2 separate regions of the Homo sapiens genome follow, and region 2 is linked to region 1. Evidence: promoter capture Hi-C in 16 types of primary human blood cells and fetal thymus (Javierre and others, 2016). All regions are on one chromosome and are shown on one strand. The core of a region is centred on a gene start or on the middle of the fragment in contact, and the rest is flanking DNA. Distances in the headings are between cores, read along the strand shown.

What was found. The method cuts DNA at HindIII sites, captures the fragments that hold promoters and counts their contacts. A CHiCAGO score of 5 or more calls a contact.
Region 2: a contact is called between a fragment that was not itself captured here and the fragment with the promoter of LRP12 in region 1, in 2 of 17 cell types (megakaryocytes and M2 macrophages). The highest score is 6.7, in megakaryocytes.

What each region holds. Positions count from the first base shown.
Region 1 is chr8:104,586,805-104,591,309 of GRCh38, reverse strand. It overlaps LRP12 (LDL receptor related protein 12), which reads left to right and starts at 2,052. Exons shown (of 7, transcript NM_013437.5): 1 at 2,052-2,491. The coding sequence starts at 2,413. RefSeq lists silencers at 2,014-2,353, 2,784-2,893. The HindIII fragment of the contact is 14,799 bases long and covers 1-4,307 here.
Region 2 is chr8:104,530,077-104,534,581 of GRCh38, reverse strand. It overlaps LRP12 (LDL receptor related protein 12), which reads left to right. Exons shown (of 7, transcript NM_013437.5): 2 at 2,619-2,675. Among named protein-coding and RNA genes, the nearest start is that of MIR548A3, 48 kb to the right of the region's middle. The HindIII fragment of the contact is 1,132 bases long and covers 1,917-3,048 here.

The DNA of each region.
Region 1 (4,505 bases), core at 803-3,302:
CTGAGAAGACACATCTGGGTGGATGAGCAAGTGTAGGGGTGGGAGGGGTGTGACAGGAACTGATGAGGGCACTGTGTGTCTCGTGTTCGGGACAGGATTCCTTGAATGGTACTAAAAGTGGACAGGGGAGGATGCAGTCCAGTCTACTCCTTCACTCTGCTTGTGGCCTGTTCTTAACACAGCTCTCATGGAAGCGCAATTTAGAGAAAGCAATCTTAAGAAACAAGAAAGTAGAGTTTAGAATCCCAAAATTAGGAAAGACAACTGCAATTTGTTTAGTGAAAAACACTGAAGTTGCTTCTTTCCAACAAGAATGGAAAACATTTTTGGAGTGCTGGTTGCTTTTTTTACCAGATGATATAAGATTTGTTAATTATTAGATTTTTGTAATACTTATTAATACATTTTTCTCTTATCTTTTGGAATAGCATTTCCTGGTTTTAAAAAAAAAAACTTAAAAGGGGGCAAATCGGCAGGAGACTGAGGAAAAGCCTAAATGTATTCCCCAGAAAGTATGTTTTAAATTTTAACATTTACTTACTGAGAGGTGAGGCCAGCTGAACTTCCTGGGTCCAGTGGGGACTTGAGGAACTTTCCTGTCTTACAAGAGGATTGTAAAATGCACCAATCAGCGCTCTGTAAAATGCACCAATCAGCACTCTGTAAAACGCACCAATCAGCAGGATTCCAAAAGTAGCCAATCGCAGGGAGGATTGAAAGAGGGGCACTCCGATAGGACAGAAATGGAACATGGGAGGGGACCACAAGGGAATAAAAGCTGGCCACCACCAGCCAGCACCTGGGGTTCTCTTCCATGCTGTGGAAGCTGTCCTTTTGCTCTTCGCAATAAACCTTGCTACCGCTCACTCTTTGAGTCCGTGCCATCTTTAAGAGCTGTTAACAGTCACCGGGAAGGTCTGCAGCTTCATTCTTGAAGTCAGGGAGACCACGAACCCCCTGGCAGGCACCAACTCCGACACATTACTAGGCGCTAAGCATTGTGCTAGAGAGTTTGCTGTGGTATAGGGGCAACAATCTTTACTTTGGAATGAGAAAAACTGTTTCAAACAACTTACTTGCCATGAGTAATTTAATTTCTCTCTTTTCTATAAAACATGGGTAATATTTATCTCACAAGGATGTTTGGGATTAAAAAGTGACAACCTATGTCAATAGGACAGCATGATGCAGTGTAGGTCTTCAATGAATAGCATGGAGAGTGCTTGCAAAGGGCAACGATAAAATCTAATATAAATAAGACGTTGTAGACAAACGCTTTAAAAACACAGGGGGTAAGGTCTGATGTGCCAGCGTCACTACAGACGTACTTAGAAAAGTGTTCTGGGGATCTAAGTAAAGGAGGACTCCCATTTGCTGGGAGTGAGAAAAGAGCTTTAGGGAAACTGCAGCGTGATGGGCGAATCCTCCTTTCAATATATCTACCCTGAAAGTCGGCTCCAGCCCTGCCGAACATCCTGGCCCAGCTGCACCCGACCCAGCGTGAGATGTCAAATGACCTCTTGGCGCTTCCACGCCAGACTGGAGGGGCTCTGCACAAGCCTTGCCCGACTCATTCCGGGCACCTTGAGCGTGGGAGTCCACACTGCCCCTTGACCGACCAGCTGCCAGGTTGGCCGCACTAACTTGAGCCCACCCCCACTCGAAGCTCCGCGCCGACAGCAAGTGGAGACTTGGGGGTACCGGATAGAGGAAGGAACTCCCAAGTTGTCAGCTTCAGACCATCCACGCCTCCCCCAACACGGAACCACCTTCAGCCTCCCAGCTGGTATCCCACCCCCCCTCCCCCCACCCGCTGGGCCAGAGCCCAGCCCTCGGACAGCGACCGTGCTCCTCCACACACCCCGCGCTCCAGCCCCTGGGCATCCAGCAGCCGGCGTTCGCACGCTCTGTCATCGATTGGCGCTGCCTTGCTCCTTGGGCTCCCGTCGCGTGGAAATCGGCCCGAAACTTGGAAAGTCCAGCGGAGCGCGGGGAGGGAACCGAGGCAGGCGGGCCAGGGGATTGCCGATCGCACGGATGGGCGCGCGCTCAGTCTGGCGAGTGGCGGCGCCGGCTAGCCCGAGCGGCGCGAGGCCGGAGTCCGGCGTCCGCCACCCTCTCGTCTCGCGCTGGCGCGCGAGCTCCTTGCCCTTGCCCCCAGGAGGGCCGCCCCGCGTGGGGCTCTCGCACCGCCCGGGGTGGGAGCAGGCGAGCCGGAGGGAGGAGGGAGGAGGGAGCGCGCGCGGGCGGCGGCGGCCCCTCCCTTCCCCCTCCCGCAGCCGCGGAGAGCGCAGGGAGCAGCCGGTGGCTCGGCGGCGGCGGCGGCGGCGGCGGCGGCGTCGGCGTCGTCTACCTCCAGCTTCTCCTCCCTCCTCCTCCGTCTCCTCCTCTCTCTCTCCATCTGCTGTGGTTATGGCCTGTCGCTGGAGCACAAAAGAGTCTCCGCGGTGGAGGTCTGCGTTGCTCTTGCTTTTCCTCGCTGGGGTGTACGGTAAGTGTCCGCGTCCCCGCGCCCCGCTGACCGAACAAAGCTGAGGCGACCCGGGCCCCGAGGCCTCCAGGACGGGGGTTCCCCTGGAGACTCCCGCGGAGACCCTGGCTACCGGCGGGACAAAGACCGGTGAGGGGGTGGATGTGGCGGAACGGGTGTCCCCACACGGAGATGCTTTTCTCCACTCGTCCACCTCCAGACCCTCGGGTGGTGGAGAGGGGCTGGGGGGCCCGGCCGGGAGGGCCCCGGCGGAGCGAGGGGGTGGCGGGCGGACTTCCCGACCTGGGTTCGAGGGCCCCCGCGGCCAGTTGCTCCAGGACCCGTAGCCTGGCACAATCCACACACAAAGATGCTTGACTGTGAGAAAGCAGAGGAGCTCGCCCCCGCCGCTGCCGGGACGGTCCTTCCCCCCGCCCCCTCAACCCGGGGTTAGGAAGTTCTCTCACCGGCGAGATTCCCACCGCGCCAGCCCTTGTCCTACTCGATTCCCTGAAAAGGCTTCCCGCTGACTTCTCCCCACTCCACCTCGGGGGCAAGGGCTCTGCCGAATCCGGGCGTGCAGGGTCCTGTTGGTTCCCCGGGAGCAGCACGCGGGAGAAGGCCAGAAAATAGTTTCCAGCCCCACCTCAGTCTCTCCTGTTAGGGTGTACACATCTGTCCTGACTCCTAGTTCAATTGTAATTTCATCCATCCTCGTCCGCCGCTGTGGTCACTGTTACTTTATTCCAGTCGATGGATCGGGTTAGAGATAACTCCTTTCGGGTTAAGAGAAGGCTGAAGACTGTGCGGACAGCTTTATATTGCGTTGGGGTCTGAGCAAGAGCTGAATGGAATTAATTGCAAAGAACATCTATCTCTTAAGATAATTAAGTTACACTTCTGACTTCACCGTTCTTAGTTCATCAGTTAAACACACTGAATAGGTATTTCAGAGAGCTCAGTTTTAACCTTTCCTTTTTGGAGTGTTGCTCTGATTTCTCCAGAAAAAGAATTAGAAGATATCATTACTTTGGTAAATTTTACTTATAAAAAGTCTAATTCATTTGCCACAAACATTGATTTGACTAGTATAATGGTGGTGGTGGTGAGGTTTAGTCAACAGCCAATTTGTCAGCAAGTGTTATCTCTTTTGAAGGCATTTATCTACGGAATTGAATGTGATGGTGGCTTTTGAAACCTGGCAAGTGACGCTAAATGAAGAATTAATGAACGTAATTGGGCATTTACTGACAGCCAAGAAATTCTTTTTGGTACAATTAAGGATGTGTTGCTCCCGTACCTGATTAGTAGTATTTTTGTTTGTTTTGGTGAGGAGAGTAGTTTGGTCCATTTTTTATGTAGGGGTAATTGCCAGAGGTGTGCTTGTGTGGGACCAAAAACCCAGTACACGACTTTTGATTGTTAGCTGCATCAAGTGGCTGTAATCCCTGCTTGCCTGATGACTTGTGGGTTTGGGTCTACACCAGAGATCAATAAGCTATTACGTTGTTTCTTCTGCCCTGAAGGTGGGTATAGTTCTGCTCTAGGTTTGGTGTAATGGCCCAGGAGAGAGAAGAAATTGAGAGGTATCTTTAATTTAGGGTGATTAGGATTGTCCAGCTTTGTCCTCTACTATAATAAGCATTGAATTTCTGTGATGTCCGATCAGAATAGATAAATAAATGGGCTCTTCTTTCATTAAAACCTGTGTCATCAGTGTTTGAACTAGAAGTCTTTTGCCTCGAGGGATAAGAGGCTGTGAACCCCTCAATTTGTTTTGGTGCATTCTTTAGTACTTGTACACAAAGTGACTTTCTGGTAGGTGCCTATCAAAGCTTTTATCTTTTTGGAATTTGTGTTCAGTGAGGAACACAAATTGTTAGTAAGCAAAGACTGAAACTCCTTTTTCCAACAGTGTGGGCCGCAGATTATAAAACCAGCAGGTGATTATGCCAAAGGTTGATGTCTCAAGCCACAGCAGGTTTCAAAGTGTAAAAAAAAAAAGGAGGTAGTGAACCAGGCAGAACATTAAACT
Region 2 (4,505 bases), core at 1,233-3,732, 57 kb after region 1:
CATTAATACTTTAATGAAATTTTAATATGTTATAATTAGCATGATATTTACCAGATTTCTGTTTATCCAGAATGATGGGAATGAACTATATATTCTGTTCACCTGTTTCTCCTTTTTTGTAATATAAATAAAATTTTTAAAGAAATCTGTGCCTGTTTGTAACAAATTTGGCCAATGCTAAAGTATACAATTCAAATCTTCCTCTCTAATTCCAGTTCCAGAGGTTTTCCTCCACATCAGTGTTATACCCTTAGGCTCATCAGTGTTTATATAAATGCATAGACATACATATGACATGTTTAACATCTGCATATTATAAACTATACATACATAATTTTAAAGTTAAAATTAAATCATACTTTACTGCTCATCTGAAACATTTTTAATTTAATATGTGTATCTATCCAAGTTAGTACATATATAATTATTTGTTTATTGAATATTTTATTATAAGGCTGTATCAGTTTATTCCTGTGCATGTTGATAATAGTTTTAGATTTTTTTTTTTTTTTTGCTATTATAAAGAATTTCACTAAGCCCTATAAGGTAGGTATTATCTCCATTTTAAAACATGAAATTGAGGCACAGAGAGATTGGGTAACTTGCCCTAAATTGCACAGCAAGAAGTAATGGAGCTGGTTTTAGAATCCTGGCAATATAGCTCAGAATCCACAATCTTCAATATTACATTATGCTGGTTTTTTGCCTTCTGTTTTTGCTCTGTTTACCAAACTGGAAAAAAGATTTCATGTTTAAAATATATCTAAACTGGGTGTGATAGTACACTCCTGTAGTCCCAGCTGCTCAGGAAGCTAAGGTAGGAGGATTGCTTGAGCCCAAGAGTTCTAGTCCAGCCTGGGCAACATAGTCAGACCCTGTCTCTTTTTTAAAAAAGTAAAATCTGATATTAAAACTCTCCTGGGCATAATATGCTATCTTACAGATACTGGAAACATTAGTATCACAAATTATGTAACTGTGATTTGTAGCAATGTATAATATAGAAGTAGAAGATTTAAGCCCAAACCTTGCCAGTGCTTCTTAAACTTTAATGTGCATATAGATCACTAAGTGTGCATATAAATTCAGATTCCATAATCTGGAATGAGCCTGAGTCTCTGCATTTCTAGCACACTCCCAAGGTGGCCAGTACTGCTAGTCTACTCGTGAGTAGCAAGGATTTAGGCAGTTTATACTGACCTTTGGCAAACCTTCTTAGGTGTTTTATTGAATCAGTTTCATGTTTTGTTTCTGCTGCCTGTTTTTATAATTTTTGTGTGGTAAAGAAATGGGTACAGTCTTTCTGGTCATTTCAATTCTGTATGTGTGACATTTAACAATAAATGAGAAAAAGAAATTGTGCCTTTTTTGGCATCAGTGCAGAGTACTTAAAATGAATATAATCATTTATTTGTATACTTAATATGGCCTTCCCACCTATCTCATCATTTCCACTGTTTCATTCTTAATTGAGGGAAATATAATGTATGTTTTCATTTTGAAGGGTATAACTGTAGTTGAACCAAAAATATTGTTTTATCACTGTTATTTTTTCTTTAGTAACAATAATATACTTTACACAGTTACAAAAATCAACACCTGTTCAATGCTATGTGCCAGGCACTATATCAAGTGCTTAATGGGCATGATTTCATTTTAATCATCAGGACATCCCTCATTCATCTTTCAGCTATTTGTGCGCCTCCTCTGTATCAGGAACTGTGCCTACAGTGGGGAGCCAAATAAACACAAATTCTGTTCTCCTACAGCTTAGTGCATTGGGGTGGGGGGTGCAATACAATATTCAAGCAATTATAGAAGTGTGATACTTGTAAACAAAAAGTTGTTAATTACAATATTTGCTATTTTCTCCACTCTCAACCATGAAAGAAAATTCTGCTTTTGCCTTCTAAGCTTTTTCTGACTAGCTTCCTTCCCCACCTGACTCCGAGGAGAATTCTTTGTCTGTTCGGTTTCTGAGCTGTTGTGATGCCAGATCCAACTAATGGGTAAAGAGAGAAACCTTTAGAACTAATGATGTATAAAATACAAAATTTTAAGACAAATATCTGAAGAGACATTGCTTACATTAATTTGAGGGAGTAAATATTCGCAATACTTAAGATTGTTAGAATTGTTGGTGAGAAAAATTTGAAAGATTTTTTTGAAGATTTAGAAGACAATGCAAGACTTTTTTTTTTTTTTTTTAAGTACCAACATATGTGGCCCTGACAGATATTACACCGACTTGTGGCTGATTTGGACACGCTTTTAGGGGAATGCTATTTTTAACAAGCTGTGTTCTCTTTTTTCTTGTAGCAGTACTGACTTCCCTTTTGATTATTAATTGATAGAAAATTCTTTCTGGTGTTGATCAGATCTATCTATTTGACCTTTATATATAACACTACCTTGTTGAGATTTCCAAAATGTTTGTTTTCCCCATTACTATTATGATTTTGAGCTTCCTAGTATTGTCTTGAAGATTATTATAAGAAACTTTAGCTTCTCTGTATTAAAAGGAACTCTATGTAGTTGTTTCTCTTTTAAAGGGAGGATCTGAAAAAATTTTGTAATTTTATCTTGGATATTAGTTTATTCATTATGTTTAATTTTAGGAAATGGTGCTCTTGCAGAACATTCTGAAAATGTGCATATTTCAGGAGTGTCAACTGGTAAGTCATTTTTTGTAATGTTTAAATTTCATGCATGACTTATATGGTAAATATTGAAAGCCACCTGGTATCTTACGAAGTGATATTTGGCTATAAAAATTATTACTGCTTTTTGCAGCATGTAATAAGGAATGAAGTAACTGGAACATGGAGAAATTCTCATAAGATAAAACTGATACTTGCATGCCCATGGATTGATTATACTTTTCCAAACGGACTGCATAATTATTTTTTCATACAAACATTGAACCTAGAGAAAAGTTAGCTCAAGTTGAATTAGTATTTTCTTTCCATACAAAGTTATGTGACATGAAATTTACTGAAATGTGATTTTGAATGCTATCCCTAGGATTAGAGCCTTAGAAATTAAGCTTTTTGCTTGATTTTTATAGTACTACTCTACATATAACTATTGTATTTGAGCGCACAGTTTATTTGCTGTTAAAAGCAACACAGTATACTTGTGTCCATGAAATTCAGAAATTCATCATTGTGGTTAATGTATTTTTTATACTCATCTAGGCTTTTATAACTTGTAATTACTTTATAACTTTATAATTACTTAAAGACTTATAACTACTAAAATTTTTATTCTTAGGCCACTTCCACAGCTCCGTTACCATTTTTGCTGTCAACCACAGTTACTAGGAGAACTAAAATATTTATTTTTGCATATATTGAAATAGGTTTTCTTACTGTTCATTTATTATTTCCCTATATTGATAAGTTTTGTGTGGTTAAAACTGTACTTAGTGTATTTATCAATCCATTGATTAACTTCTTTGTGTCATCTTGTAATTTGTTTGGTTCTTTTTTCCTCACATGAAGCAAATCCTGTTCTTTTGTTTTATGTCTGACTTTGTATTCAGAAAGTTAATAGACTTAACAAATACTCTAAGGGTTAGTGTGCCCTAGTCAAACACATCAAGCCCAACAAGCCTAGTTTCCTGAAAACGCAAAGCAAGTGCTTCAGTGCCTGCATCAATTTTTTTTCATAGTTTGTTTCACTTTTTTAAAAATACATTCTCAAATGATATATAATTGTATTTATCAAATAACAGTAAGGTTATTTTAAAGATGGCCTTCTCCCTTTTTCTTTGCATTTTGAATAGTTAATGAGAATTATAATTACTTTTCCAAGTTGTAACTATAAAGTATGTTTGTTTACAAACATTTTAATTTATACAACCAAATGGTTACTGTTTAATTTAGTAGTTTTCAAAAGTTTTGGTCTCAGGACCCATTATAAACTTTTAAAAACTACTGAGGCCTGTTTTAGTCTACGTGTGCTGCTGCAACAAAATACTACTGTGGATGGCTTAAATAACAGACATCAGTTTTTCTCACAGTTCTGAAAGTCCAACATCAAAGTGCTGGCAGGGTTGGTCCCTGGTGAGACCTCTTTTCCTGGCCTGTAGATGGCCACCTTCTCATTGTGTCCTCACATGGCCTTTTTTCTATGAATGTTCAGAGAAAGCAAGAGGTCTCTTGTGCCTCTTCTTCTAATAAGAACATGAGTCCTATGGTATTAGGGTCCCATCCTTATGACCTCATTTAACCTCAGTTACCTCCTTAAAGGCTGTGTCTCCAAATACAGTCACATTGGGAGTTAGGGCTTCCACATATGGGCTTGAGGGGGGACACAATTCAGTCTGTAACAAGGACTTAAAAGAGTTTTTGTTTATATGGGCTACAGCTACCAATATTTACTATGTTAGAAATTAAAACTGAGAATTTGTTTTAAAACTCATTAGTTCAATTAAAAATAACAGTAACCTATTGCATGTTTACATCAATATGTAGTATGGTTTTATGAAAAATATATATTTC